Regions from separate parts of the Homo sapiens genome. Here region 1 is linked to region 2. Evidence: promoter capture Hi-C in human tissues and cell types (Jung and others, 2019). All regions are on one chromosome and are shown on one strand. The core of a region is centred on a gene start or on the middle of the fragment in contact, and the rest is flanking DNA. Distances in the headings are between cores, read along the strand shown. Region 1 overlaps TAPT1 (transmembrane anterior posterior transformation 1). Region 2 holds the start of PROM1 (prominin 1).

Region 1 (7,058 bases), core at 3,190-5,689, 140 kb before region 2:
AGCCCCTCCTTCTTTTCCCCTGGTGTCCCTGCTCTGCTAGTCACATAGCTCCTGCCACTGCTAGCACCCAGTCTGTAGCTCCGATAACCATATTTGTTAGAGGTTTCCCCACTAGAAACAATTATTTTAGTCCTTCTTCAATGCCCAGGCTGCTAAGTCTAGCGCTGCCCTCTTCCCCTGCTCTGTAATCCTTCCTTCCCCTCCTTTTAAGAATTTTTAAAAACGATTCCCTAGGAGCTGGCCTGGGTCAGAGGGCCTTTGAGTGGCAGCACCTGGAGTCATTTGGATAGCATTTCTCCCTGAATCAAACTAGTCCTCCACGGCTAGATGCTCGGACTTAAGGTATTACTTGTTGATTTTTTTATATTCTTGTGTGCCTCTGAGAGTCTAGCACCACTGCCCTTGAGATCTAGATCCCCCTGCAAGTTAAGGCAACCTTTGGCTTTTCTTTTTGAAAGTCATAATCTTAGTGTCTTGGTGGCTGAACCATCAGTCAGTTCCAAAGTTCCCTTTATCATTTCTCACAAGGAATTTAGGGCTCCTACAGGTAAGACATTTGTTGATCAGTCCCAACAGCCTAGAATTCCCTAAATGAATGTACATATTAGGTACTTATCCAAACTCTTTCCATCTGAATAAAATAAAACGTGGTGTCTGAGGTTCATTTTTTGTTTTATATCTCTCCTTGTTGATTTATATGTTTAGAAACTAGATATGTATATTTGTCTGTATGAATAGCTGTATATGCTCTATATTGTATTATACTAAACATGTGTCTCCATTAAGTCTAAGCTTTCTTTTCCTCATCACTTCGTTCTCAGAACTCCCGTTCTGACTTATATTTAGCCTGGCAATAGGCTGACGCATGTCTCAGATGCGAGTACTTACACCTTTTAACATAGTTAGAATTGGGAATCCCACTCATCATTCCTGTTTTTATTTGCTCTCTCAGAATGGTCATTGTGTATTTCCTTGTTGCATATGTGGTTACTGGCCTTGAACTCTGGATGTAGTGGTTATCAAGAACTGCAGATTGATCTCTTCTGTATTTTCTTCCTGTCCTTGAAAATACTACCAACTTCTGTTGTTCCTTTTGACATAAAACCAAATAATCAATGTTATGTTTTTGTGCTTGTTCCCCACTTGATTCATCTGCAGAAGTCCTAGGTAGGAGAGTTTCTGTATAGCCATATTTTTATTTAGGAATCTAAGTACAGCAAATCAACTTTGGACTAAGCATTAGGAAATCTGTGTTTTTGGCTTGGTTGGGTTGTTGAATTGCTTTGTAAACTCTGTGCTTGCTTAGACTGCTTGCCTAATCAGTTTGGTTCTGTTTCATAATGCCACTACTAGATAGTTCAGTATCTGAAGCATCTAGGTTGCTTCTAGTCACCATGGAGACTTAACAGAAGGCTTGGTGTAAATAAGGGTAGCACCTGTGAGGGTAGCACAGGTGAAACAGTACCTGTGTAATGCAGGTGTTGGAGATGCATGGGGATAGGTATTGCTTGTAAAACAAGAAAGCCTGAAGTCGGGTATAGGTGAACATATTGTTTCTACTGGTAACAGTGCCATGGACCCATTTCTTTCTTCTTTAACAGTGACTCTGGACTTCTAAAACTTCAACTTATTATCCATCTCTTTTGCCTCTCTCCTCTCCCTTTAACCATGGTTAGACCTCTTCTTGCTTCACCTCTGTTAGAGATTGAGCAGAGGCAGGAAGAATGAAACCCAGAAAAGTCAACTGAATTTTTAGCAATACCCTTAAAAGATTTCGAGTGGGACGAAGGTTTTAACTATTCATATTACCTATGTCTTATTCTTTGTGTAACTGAAAATTTGTCAGTTTCTTCTTACAAATACATTTTTATTAAAATATGTTTTCATTTAACCAGTCTTCACCTATATCACATAGTTATCCCAGTGGCCCCAAACTTAACCAAATGGATGATTAAAGGGTGACTGATTCTAAAATTATGATCTAGAGCCAATTAATTTGTTCACAAAGAAAAATAAAAATAATAAAACCGGGAAATTACTTGGAGTAACCACAAACCAGATACAAAGTAAAATTAGCTACTTCTGACAAACTATTGCTTTGCTTTTAAAATTCTCACTTGCTTTACTTAATTAGTATATATAGACCAAACGAACAATGAAAAGTTACTTATTTTGGTTTTTGATCAGTTCAGTGTCTTGGCTTTTGACAGTTTTTAACTTTAACTTAGTTTACGCTCTGAAATTCAATCCTAGCAGCTCATTTGTGCTCCAATTTGGGGACTACTTGCATAAAAGAAGTCTCTGGAAAGCCTATATAGCATTGACTGTCAAATTAATGATATTCTATTCTCATTTGTAATCCTTTGCTTTATAACCTTATGACCTTGGAAAAAGTCACTCCTTTGTTTATACCTGTTTTCCATCTATACATGTGTAAATATTCTACTCTTTACTCCTCTAAATGAGACTATAAACATTTTTTCAAACATCTTAAAAACTTGAATATACTGTGTGAAATGGTTCTTTACTTAATGTTTGACTTAGGAAGGCAGAATTGCTGTTGTATGATTGAGTCCCAGAAAAGCTGATTACTAATTGGCCTGGTACAAGAGTGTGTCTCTGTTCAATAAGCTTATTTAATATTTTAGTGTAACCTTAATAAAGTTTACTAAAGTTTTATGTTATTTAAGACTATGGAGATATGCATGTTTCATATTTTCCTAACAGTTAACCAGTATTACTTTCCAAATTTTTAAATGCTCAATGCTATTTTAAGAAAGATATATTTAGACATATTACTGAACATATAAATATATTTATGATTACTCATTACTTTTAATTAATACTTTTTAATCTTTGGTTCTTATTTCTAAAATAAGCTTTCTTAGAAGATAATTAAACATTGTGTTTTTTCTTTTAGGGGTGAAGAAAAAGCAATTTATACTATGCTTTTTCTGAATTTAAGTTCTGGATCACAGAGCAATTCTGTGGTAGGAGATGATATCATGTAAAAATATGCTGGAGGGGCTGGGCGCGGTGGCTCACTCCTGTAATCCCAGCACTTTGGGAGGCTGAGGCGGGTGGATTGCCTGAGCTCAGTAGTTCGAGACCAGTATGGGCAACACGGTGAAACCCTGTCTCTACTAAAATACAAAAAATTAGCTGGGCGTGGAGGTGTGCGCCTGTAATCCCAGCTACTTGGAGGCTGAGCCAGGGGAATTGCTGGAACCCAGGAGGTGGAGGTGGAGGTTGCAGTGAGACGAGATCGTGCCACTGCACTCACGCCTGGGCAACAGGTGACAGAGCAAGACTGTGTCTCCAAAAAAAAAGTATATATATATGTACGTATGTGCTGGAGGAATTGATTTGGATTTATGATTGGTATTATTTTCCTCATATTACATATTCACAGTTGACGGCTGGGCACGGTAGCTCACACCTATAATCGTAGCACTTGGAGAGGCCAAGGCGGGTGGATTGCTTGAGCCTAGGAGTTCAAGACCAGCCTAGGCAACATAGTGAAACCCTGTCTCTATAAAAAATACAGTGAGCCAAGATTGTGCCACTGGGCTGCAGCCTGGGCAACAGAGTGAGACCCTGTCTCAAAAAAAAAAGAAAATTCACAGTTGTCAAAACATAGTTCTTCTAATGTTAAGCACTTGTTTATGCTATAATAGTAAAATGTTTCTTTTTTTTTTTTTTTGAGATAGAGTCTCGCTCTGTCACCAGGCTGGAGTACAGTGGTGCGATCTTGGCTCACTGCAACCTCCGCCTCCTGGGTTCAAGCAATTCTCCTACTTCAGCCTCCCAAGTAGCTGGGACTGCAGGCGTGCACCACCATGCCCAGCAAATTTTGGTATTTTTAGTAGAGACGGGGTTTCACCATGTTGGCCAGGATGGTCTCCATCTCTTGACATTGGGATCCACCCGCCTTGGCCTCCCAAAGTGTCTATTTTTAAAAAACTTTTACTGAATGATATTTCTTCCTGGTAAGATTGGGATAAATGAACTAAGATTAATTGACATCTTAAAAACTGAAATCAGTGTTCAGAAAGTAAATATTTGGATTATTGGAAAAATACTTATTTTTAAAACGTAGAGGTAGATGTTTGGCATAACAAATGAGAGTGACTGTTTTGCTTAGAAGGAATGAAATACTGCAAAAGTCTGACAGAAGTTAAGATGTACTTAGCTGTCAGAGTTCTTGGTGATACCCATAGGTAAAGAACAGTGGCTTTGCTAAATAATTAACCAGTCAACTGTAGCCAAAATTATAGGACAGATAAGTTCAGATAGGTCTATAGAATTCTAGAGAGCAATGTTTAACAAAATAAAAACAAGCGAAACACTGAAACGCAGGTATACCTCGGCACTGGAGATTGAGTGGCGCTCTGGGAAATGCAGCCTTCTCCAGGAAAAGGTGGGAATGGTCCTGGCAGAGCAGAAGCAGCGAGGCTAACTCGATGGCTCTGGCAGTGAGGCACTGTACCCTCCTACCTCCTTCACCATGAATCACAGCCAAATTATAATTGTCAGAGAGATGGTTGATCATTTTGATGTAGGGGAGAGAGCACGCTGGACTAGGTACTATTCCCAATTTGTCACTTAGCTTTTCAATGACTTTGGACAAGTCTCTCAACTTCTGTGAACCTCAGTTTTTTCATAATATGAAAATGGACAAAATATGGACACCATTAATTGCTCTGTTTAACTCTCATGATTGTTGCAAGAATTGTATGAAGTAATGTGTGCAAGACCTTTGTAAACTGCCTTATACTATAAAGTAGAAGGATCCTAATCCCTAAAATAAAGCCACTTACGCAGGAGTAGGTGAGAAGGAGGTAAGACAAAGCTTTCAAGATATTTACCTTATGAAACTTTGTTGTTGTGGTTAGTATTTCTTTAGTGTATCATTTAAAACCATTCCCCAGCCTATTAGCATCGCGCTAATTGTACGCAAAGTTTACCCTTACATTCAGAACTCACCGGCAGGGCTGGACTTCGAGAATATAGGGATACATGGGGCCTGCTCTTAGAAAGTTCATGGTCTTGTAAGGGAGCAACTAGTAAAGAGTGTAGCTTCACAGAAGTCAGCCCAAGCTGCAGTGGGAGCACAGGTAAAGGGGAGGGACAGAGGGCTCCTAATTTTCCAGAAGTAACACAGTGGCCTGTTTACAAAGGCACTTGAGGCAATAATAGGCAAAGCTATCTAATGGTGAAAAGCACACTCTCTAGCCATAGACTGCTTGACTTTGAATTCTGGCTTTTCTGCTTGCTTCCTGTGTGACCTTGGAGATCTCCTTAGCCTCTCTGGGCCTTGGTTTCTTCATCTGCAAAATGGGCATAACAGTAGAACCTGTTTCATAGTTGTGAGAGCTGTACACTCAAAATAGGTTATGTTTTTATTTGACTTTTTATATTCTCCATTGTAGAATCTAAACTAGTGTTTATAATTAAAATTCTTGGATATCTAGAGGTAGAATCCAGACATTGTATTGTTTTGTACTTGTAATTAAAACACTCAGTATTTATGTTGTATGATAACATGTTTACAGAAAATTACTTAGATGATATATGTTGTTAAATATACTTATTTGTCATATTACCTTTTAATGATAGAGCTAGGATTGCAGAAATAAACATTAGATAACCACCAAACCAGAACTGATTAATACTACAGTACTTGTGAAGTTAATATGAAGTAGTTGAAGACACTGCGTCATGCTTTGCAGTTTTTATATACTTTCATACAAATACTGTCTTAGTCCTTTGATGATTCTGTGGATAAGGCAAACAGCTGACAGGTATTAAAAAACTGCTCTAAGCTTCCATTTTCTTTTCGGTGAAATTGACATCTGTGACTGGAGCAGGGTCACAGGACTAATGTTTAAGACAGCTGGTACCAGGACAGCCTTCCTCTGGTTGCTAATCCCATGCTCTTCTGTGGATCATAACACAACTCTCATTATGGTCAAAGCTGTCATCTCCAGTCACCAGAGAAGACACCATTGTGGAGAATAATTTTCCAAATAAACCTCTTTTTCTTGAGATGGAGTTTCACTCTTGTCACCCAGGCTGGAGTACAGTACACGATCTCGGCTCACTGCAGCCTCTGCCTCTGGGTTTCAAGTGATTCTCCTGCCTCAGCCTCCCAAGTAGCTGGGATTACAGGCACCTGCCACCACACCTGGCTAATTTTTTGTATTTTTAGTAGAGACGGGGTTTCGCCATTTTGGACAGGCTGGTCTCAAACTCCTGACCTCAGGTGATCCTCCCACCTTGGCCTCCCAAAATTGATGGGATTACGGGCGTGAGCCACTATGCCCGGCCCCAAATAAACCTTTTTATTTAATTTGCTTTTTAAAATTGAAAATGATTGTGCAGTAATGTGTTTCTGTATCTCTTTAACCCAGATGGCATTCTTGTGGGCTGCGTAATTTCTTTCCTTGCACTTAGTGTGGACAATGAGGATCTCCTTATTCCCAAACCCAGGGCACTCACTGGCTGTGACTGCATCATGGTACCCTGTTCCCTCAGGGGGTTTGAGGTTCAGGTACCCGTTGGGTTACCTTTACAGTCACTTAGCTACACATACAGAGTAGAGGCTCCTGAATCAGCAGCAGCTGCTACCTTGAGTGAAGCTTTTCACTCCTTCCCTGCTAACTCCCCAAGTCTCAGAACAATTCTGTCACAATCACAAGTTCTTTTCTCAAGTATCTGGAATGCTCTTCTTTTGTCATGTCTGATTTTTGTTTTATATTGGTACGTTGTTATTTATTAAGCAATTCCATTACTATTGAACATTTTGATTAATTCCAGTTTTGTTTTCATATAGATCATCTTTCAATAGAGAAATTCAGCGGTAAAGAAAAATGAGAAAATACCAGAAATTATCATATCAGAAGGGACAAATCACCCACATGAAAGTTTAGCTCAGTTTGCTGTTCACATCACTTCCTCAATTCTTTGTCGGTTCTGTTCTTTGCTGCCTGACTCCTAAAGAGACTAATTTGGCCACTCCGTTTTATGTCTAATTCTTTCTTTTCTTAGTCACTTCC
Region 2 (7,473 bases), core at 4,212-6,711:
GTGCATTGGTGATCATGGGCCAGATCTGAGTTCAAATTTAGTGCTTGACTTACTACCTTGGTGACCTCAGGTTACTGAACCTATTTTAGCCTTATCTTTATGATAGAGATAATATGATCTCAAACTGCTGTTGTTGCTAAGGTTACATAAAATAATTCATTTAAAGCACTGGGCCCAGCGCCTCATTCATAGTAAATGCTCGTTAAGTGTGGGTGTTACTCTCACTACTTCTGTTTTTTTTTTAATTTAAAATTTTTGTGAATACAGAGTAGGTGCATATATTTATGGGTTATGTGAGATATTTTGGTACAGGCATGCAATGTGTAATAAGGCATAAGGGTAAATGGGGTATCTGTCCCCAAAATCATTCTTGTTATTGATTTCTAGTTTTATTCCACTGTAGTCAGGGAAGATGCTTGATGCTATTTCAGGTTTTTAAAAAATGTCTTAAGACTTGATTTGACCTAACATATGGTTTATCCTTGAGAATGATCCATGTGTTGCAGAAAAGAATGTCTATTCTGCAGGCATCGGATGAAATGTTCTGTAAATATCTATGAGGCTCATTCTACAGTGCAGATTAAGTCTGATGTTTCTTTGTTGATTTTCTGTCTAGAATATCTGTCCAAAGCTGAAAGTGGGATGTTGAAGTCTCCAGCTGTTATTGTATTGAGGTCTAGCAGTCTCTTTAGCTCTAATAATATTTGCCTTATATGTCTAGATGCTCAAGGGTTTGGTGCATATACATTTACAATTGTTAGATCCTCTTACTGAATTGAGCCTTTTCTCATTATATGATGACCTTTGTCTCTTCTGATAGTTTTTGTTTTGAAGTCTGTTTTGTCTGATATAAATATAGCTACTCCGGCTCTTTTTTTGGTTTCCATTGGCTTGGAATATCTTTTTATGTTCCTTATTTTCAGTCTATTTGTGTCATTATAGGTCACATATGTTTATTGTAGGCAATAGACCAATGGGTCTTATTTTTTAATCCATTCGCCCACTCTATGTCTTTTGATTGCAGAGTTTAGTCCATTTAATTCAATATTATTATTGATAAGTAAGGACTTACTCCTGCTCTTTATTTGCTTTTTGGTTGTTTTGGGGTCTTCTCTTCCTTCTTTCATTTCTCCCTGTCTGCCTTTTAGCAAAGGTAATTTTCTCTGGTGGTATGATTTAATAGCTTGCTTTTTATTTTTGTGTATTCATTGTGTTTCTTTGACTTGAAGTTCTCGTGAGCCTTGCAAATACTATCTTCTTATAACCCACTATTTTATGTTAGTAATTACTTAACACTGATTACATAAACAAAGAAAACTAATAAGAGCTCTACACCTTAACTTCCTCCCCTTGCTTCTAAACTCTTTGTTGTTTCTCCTTATATTTTATTGTGCTGTCTATGTCTTGACAAGTTGTCGTAGTTATTATTTTTGATTGGTTCATCATTTAGTCTTTCTACTTAAGATAAGAGTAGTTTACACACCACAGTTACAGTGTTATAACATTCGGTGTTTTTCTGTGTACTTACGATTACCAGGGAGTTTTATATCTTCAGATGATTTCTTATTGCTTGTTAACATCCTTTTCTTTCAGATTGAATAACTCCTTGTAGCATTTCTTGTAGGACAGGTCTGGTGTTGATGAAATCCCTCTGCTTTTGTTTGTCTGAGAAAGTCTTTATTTCTCCTTCATGTTTGAAGAATATTTTTGCTGTATATATTATTCTAGGGTAAAAGTTTTTTCCCTCCAGCAGCTTAAGTATGTCACGCCACTCTCTCCTGGGCTGTCAGGTTTCCACTGAATAGTCTGCTGCCAGATGTATTGCAGCTCCATTGTTTGTTAATTCTTTCTTTTCTTTTGCTGCTTTTAGGATCCTTTATCCTAGACCTCTGGGAATTTGATTATTGCATGCCTTGGAGTAGTCATCTTTGGGTTTATCTGCTAGGTGTTCTATACAATTCTTGTATTTGGATATTGATACTTTTCTATAGGTTTGAGTGGTTCTCTGATATTATCCCTTTGAATAATCTTTCTACCCCATCTCTTTCTCGACCTTGTCTTTAAGGCCAGTAACTCTTAGATTTGCTTTTTTAGGTAATTTTCTAGATCTTGTAGGCATGCTTCATTATTTTTTATTCTTTTTTCTTTGTCTTCTCTGACTGTATTTTCTAATAGCCTGTCTTTAAAAGTGCACTATTTCTTCTCCTTAATCAATTCTGCTATTGAAAGACTCTGATGCATTCTTCAGTATGTCAGTTGCATTTTTAAACTTGAGAATTTCTGCTTGATTCTTTAAAATTATTTCAATATCTCTATTAAATTTATCTGATAGAATTCTGAATTCTTTTTCTGTGTTATCTTAATTTTCTCTGAGTTTCTTCAAGATATTGATTTTGAATTCTCTGTCTGAAACATCACATATCTCTATTTCTCCAGGGTTGTTCCCTGGGGACTTATTTAGTTTGTTTGGTGAGGTCATGTTTTCCTGGGTGGTCTGGAAGCTTTTGGATATTCATTGGTGTCTGGGCATTGAAGACCACCCCAAGAGCCTGCTTAGTACTCTACCTCCCTGTGGCTGAGCTGGTACCTAAGGGGAAGGAAAACATCCTCTTTACTTTTCCTTCTGCTTTTGTCAAGCAGAAGGAGTCTCTCACATTAGCCACCACAGTTGGGAATATACTGGGTCTCACCTGAAACCAGCAGATCTCAGAGTCACACCCAAGAACCACAGTGTACTACCTGAGTATTGCTTCTGGCTATTGAGAACCCAAGGGCTCTTTAGCCAACAGGTGATGGGTCCTGCCCAGACTGTTTCTTTCCCTTCAAGGCAGCAGTTTCCCTTCTGGCCCAGGATGTGTCTAGAAATGTTATCCACAAGTTAGGACCTGGGATGGGGGTCTGATGACTCAGACTGATGCCCTGTCCTACTGTGGCTAAACTGATATTCAAGATAACAAAGTCCTCTTTACTCTTCCCCCTCTTCTCTTCAAGCAGAAGGAATGGGTCTCTTCGTGCTGTTTTTAATCACTCCAGCCACTAGCATTGGGACTGATGCAGACACTAAGGATCCAAATGATTATTTTTGTTTTGTTTTTTTAACTGCATTGGGATTAGGCAACAGAAGGGTCTAATGTGGCTGAGAGTTTTTGAGAGAGGAGCATTTTTAGGAGGGTAGCTGCATTCCAAGTAGAGAGCTCTGCTGGGGTAAAAGAGGCATGAGTGCTAGAAAAGGGCATGCAGTGATGAAGAGCCACTAACAGCACTACCTGGGGTTGGGGTAGGGGTGTCACAAGCACTCCCTTAGCTCCCCTGTCTGGTGTCTCAGTAAGTCGCATGCCCTCCAAGTCTACTGGCTCTGAGCTCAGCATTTGGGCTTGCTTAGGAGTTGCTGTCCTTGTGGCCTAGGCTGCCTTTAAGGTTATTTGGGGCCCCAGAGCACTTTACTGAAACTCAAGTTTTCACCACTGGTATGGGCTATTTCCTCTGAGGGAAATTGGCTGAGTTCAGCCTAGTTTTGCTTTCTGCTATGACAGAGCAGTACTGAGTTCAATTCAAAGTCTCCCAATCACTGCACTCTCCCTTTCCCAAGCCACAAGGCTGCTGCTGCTGGGGGATGGAGGACTGGCGGCATTGGCAAATCAAAACTGTCTTTCCTGGCTTCTTCAGTGCCTCTTTCAGTAATATGAAATTAAAACCAGGTATTGTGGTTACTCACCTGATTTTTGGTTCTTATAAAGGTGCTTTTTGTGTGTGTAGATAGCAGTTAAATTGTGTTCCTAGCCGGGGTGGGGGGTGGGTGGTCAAACCTTCTATTTGACCATCTTGCTTCACCCCTTTCTACTGATACTATTGTTGTTGATATTATTAGGAATGAAAATGAGCCCTGTGAGTTATAATTGTCTTCATTTTGCAGACCAGGAAACTGAGGCTCAGAGAAATATTAAGCAGCCAAAGTCACAGCGATTAAAAGAGGCGGGACCAAACTTTGACGGAGATCAGGACCCACTCCTTTGAGAAATCACCTCTTTTGCTAGCTCCAGCCTAAAAGTGCTATCTAGGAGAAGGTTTATGGGACCCCAGCAGATGTTCAACCAGAAACTTCTGACCTGCAGGGGCTGCAGAGGGGAAATCTGCCCTGATTAGAAGAGATTTGTTTTCCACCCATATTAGTTTGATCTCACATTGCTATAAAGAACTACCTGAGACTGGGTTTCAGAGGCTGTACCGTAGGCATGGCCAGAGAGGCTTCAGGAAACTTACAATTATGGTGGAAGAAGGGAAAGCAAGCACATCTTCACATGGCAGAAGGAGAGACAGAGCGAGCAAAGGGGAAGTGCCACACACTTTTAAATCATCAGATATCCTGAGAACTCACTCACTATCATGAGAACAGCAAGGGAGAAATCCGCCCTCATAATCCAATCACCTCCCACTAGGTCCCTCTCCCAGTGAATTATAATTCAATATGAGATTTGGATGGGGACACAGAGCCAAACCATCTAACCTTGCCATGTCCTACTGTACTTTTTGGAAGTTTTCTGAACTAACATTTCTTGTCTAGAAATATACACACTCAAGATCAATCTAACTATTAAAAACAAAAAATGCTTATTTTCCAGTACCTGTTTTATGTTAGATTCTGGGGTAAAAAGAAAAAGGTACTGACTTAATGTTCCTGTCTATCATTCATTTGTAGCTTGTGCATCCATCCTTTCATCTGTCTATCCATATCACAAACATGTATTAAACACCTGCTGTATGCTAGACACCATCCTGAAGGTGCATTTCTTCCCTAAGTCTTTTTTTTGCCTGCCGGAGAGTACAGTATTCTCAATTCAAGATAAGAAGTGGTGAATAAGAGTGAAGTGCAAATTGGTGAGGACACTTAGACACCGAGTGATTACTTCTGACAGGTTTCCACCACTCAGCTAAGTAGCAAGGTGAAGACTCCGAGGTTGAGTTGTAACTCACAGAGCGGGAAGACCAATAGGCAGTGAGAAAAGAAGTTGCAGTGGCTTCACGTTATAGCAGATGCCTGTGTGTACACATGGGAGCGAATATGGCTTTATGCTGTTTTTCAACCGCTTCAGCCACTAGCATTGGTACTGCTGCACACTAAGGATCCAAATGATTGTTTTTTTGTTTTTTGTTTTGTTTTGTTTTGTTTTGTTTTGTTTTAAATTGCATTGGGATTAGGCAACAGAAGGGTCTAATGCGGCCGGGATGAGACAGGAGAGTTTTTAGGAGGGTAGCTGCATTCTAAGTAAGGGACTCTGCGGGGGGAAAAGAGGCGCAAGCGTTGCAAGAAGGGAGTGCAGGGGGTTGAGCAGGCACCTCTACAGGAAATGGATGCTGTCCAGGTGCTGGTGGGCGCCCCAGGGCTACGTGGCGAAGCAGCTCAGCCGGTCCAATCAGAGTGCGTCCAGGGCTCGGGTTTCGCGATCTTTAAGTGACTGAGGCAGATCCCCACGCGGCACCTGGCCATGCTCTCAGCTCTCCCGCCGCGGTGAGTATGTTTAAGGAATCCTTTCCATTACGGCGGCCCCATACCTAGGTCCCCGTCCGGGACAGAGGAAGCCGCAACGGGTCCCCCCGGGCACCCGGGCCTTTCTCCTGCCTCCCGCCACGTCCGAGGGTCCGGCCGCAGCGCCGCCTGAGCCCCTCCGCGGCCGGCAGTGGGAGGCGGGCTCTCCGAAAGCCGTCGCGGTGGTCCCAGAAGCCGGGTCATAAATAATTCACGAGCCAGGGTCTGGCGAGCTAAGGGAAGGGCGGCGGCAGCGGTGACTAGGGCGGGAGCAGGAGCGGGAGCCGGGTGCACGGTGAGTAGCTGGGTCCTCATCCCGGAGCGAGAGAGGCATCTGCTGACCAGGCGCGGGGCTGAGCGCACTCCTTCCACTGTACTGGGGGTGTACAGTGAGGAGTGGACGGGTTCGCTCTGCGCCCCCCTTACCCTAGCCATCTGCGCCGCCTCCCTGGCCCCTCAGCAGGTGGTGCGGGCCCGGACAGCGGCTGGGGGCCAGAGGAACTGCGGGGAGAGCGTGGTGGTGCCGGTGCCCGTCCAACCCAAACTTTTTAGTCTGAGTGGTGGCCCGCGACGCCCCGCTTGGGTCTTCTTTCCATCCACTGGGGATGGGGGCGGGGGTGGGGGTAGCCGGCGGCCGTGGTTCCGGAGCGGGAGTCGGAGGTGAGTGTGCGAACTGGACCGGGGCCCCAGAGACTTCGGACTCGCTCTCGGGGAGAACGGTGACCGAGGTGAGACTCGCCAGGGTCTTGGGAACGAGTCTGCGGTAAAGGAAACTCTAGGGATGGCCCCGGGGACGTGAGGCGCTGAGCTTCCCTGGCTGAGTGCGGAAATGGGCCAACACTGTGCAGCCGACCACAGCGGGAGTAGGGATATGGGGGTACAAAGCGAGGCCATCTCCCCGCGTCCGTGGGAGAAAGCATGCACCCCTGGCTTGAAGCACCTTCCCAGCCTCTCGCTCCACGGCCCTTCTGCTTGCATGCGCGGGGACCCGCGGCTATCGCTAGATGGAGAACTGGGGTGCTCAAGGCGCACCCTGCCAGAACACGCCGACCGGACAACAAAGAGGAGCGTGGACAGACCAGGAGCTTCACGGCTGTAGAAAGTCAGAGGCTCGGGATCAGTTTCCCCGAAAGCCCGTGTCTGGAGGGGCAGGGAGTCGGATCGGAGGGAGGAACTAGCTCCAGAACCCCTTCTCTCTGGCAAGATCGCCCCCGATCGGTGCCCAACAGGGGCCGCGGCGGGGAACTGGCGCCGACGCGCTCAGAGCAGCCAAGTTACTCCGGCAACCCCCTCCCCTGCGCGGCTGCGAATTCCTGGAGTCTCTTGGCTTCCCGCGCCCGCCCCGCCGCTCATTCTTTTGTGTCCCGCAGCTCGCGAGAGGCTTCCGCCCAGAAGGGAGCTAGGCCTGGAGGGGGCTTGGCCTGGAGGTGGTTTGGAGGTAAAGGGCGGGGAAGCCGGCGCCCCAGGCTTCATTCTGCAACAGGTTGCTCCTGGAGCCCGCTAAGGCGACTGACCTTTCTGGAGAAAGGTTTGCTGGAGTTCCTGAGGGCGGCAGCTGTTCTTTGTTAAGAAAGCAAGTGCACGATCGTAGTTCTTGAGTGCCCCCCGAGACTCATGCGACACGAACAACCGCTGCGATATGTTGGGTTGAATCATAAGAAATTGTCGGTTTTTTGGATGGAAGATGTGAATATCGTCAACCTCATATGATTCAACTTGTGTGATGTTACTCATTTTTCTTTTCTCACCGTCCTTTCTGTCCCGGTTATCCTAGGAGCCCCGGTGGAGTTGAGCTCAGAGTATTGATGCTAGCAGAAGCAGACAGACCCCAGATAGCCTTCCAGCTGCGTGCCAGGTGCTTTACCTATTAGATCGCTAGCCTGCGAACCCTATGCGAAATCCTCCTTTGACAGAGGAGCAGAAGAAGGGTTGGAGAATTCAAACAACTG

Evidence for each region. Contacts are between HindIII fragments. The study calls those that stand out against the background at their distance.
Region 1: a contact is called between a fragment that was not itself captured here and the fragment with the promoter of PROM1 in region 2, in 2 of the 25 tissues and cell types used here (H1 embryonic stem cells and dorsolateral prefrontal cortex).

Annotation. Positions count from the first base shown.
Region 1 is chr4:16,217,393-16,224,450 of GRCh38, reverse strand. All of the region lies in intron 1 of TAPT1 (transmembrane anterior posterior transformation 1), which reads left to right. Among named protein-coding and RNA genes, the nearest start is that of TAPT1, 5.5 kb to the left of the region's middle. The HindIII fragment of the contact is 5,454 bases long and covers 1,713-7,058 here.
Region 2 is chr4:16,082,011-16,089,483 of GRCh38, reverse strand. PROM1 (prominin 1) reads left to right here and starts at 5,461. Exons shown (of 28, transcript NM_006017.3): 1 at 5,461-5,506. The HindIII fragment of the contact is 8,177 bases long and covers 1,058-7,473 here.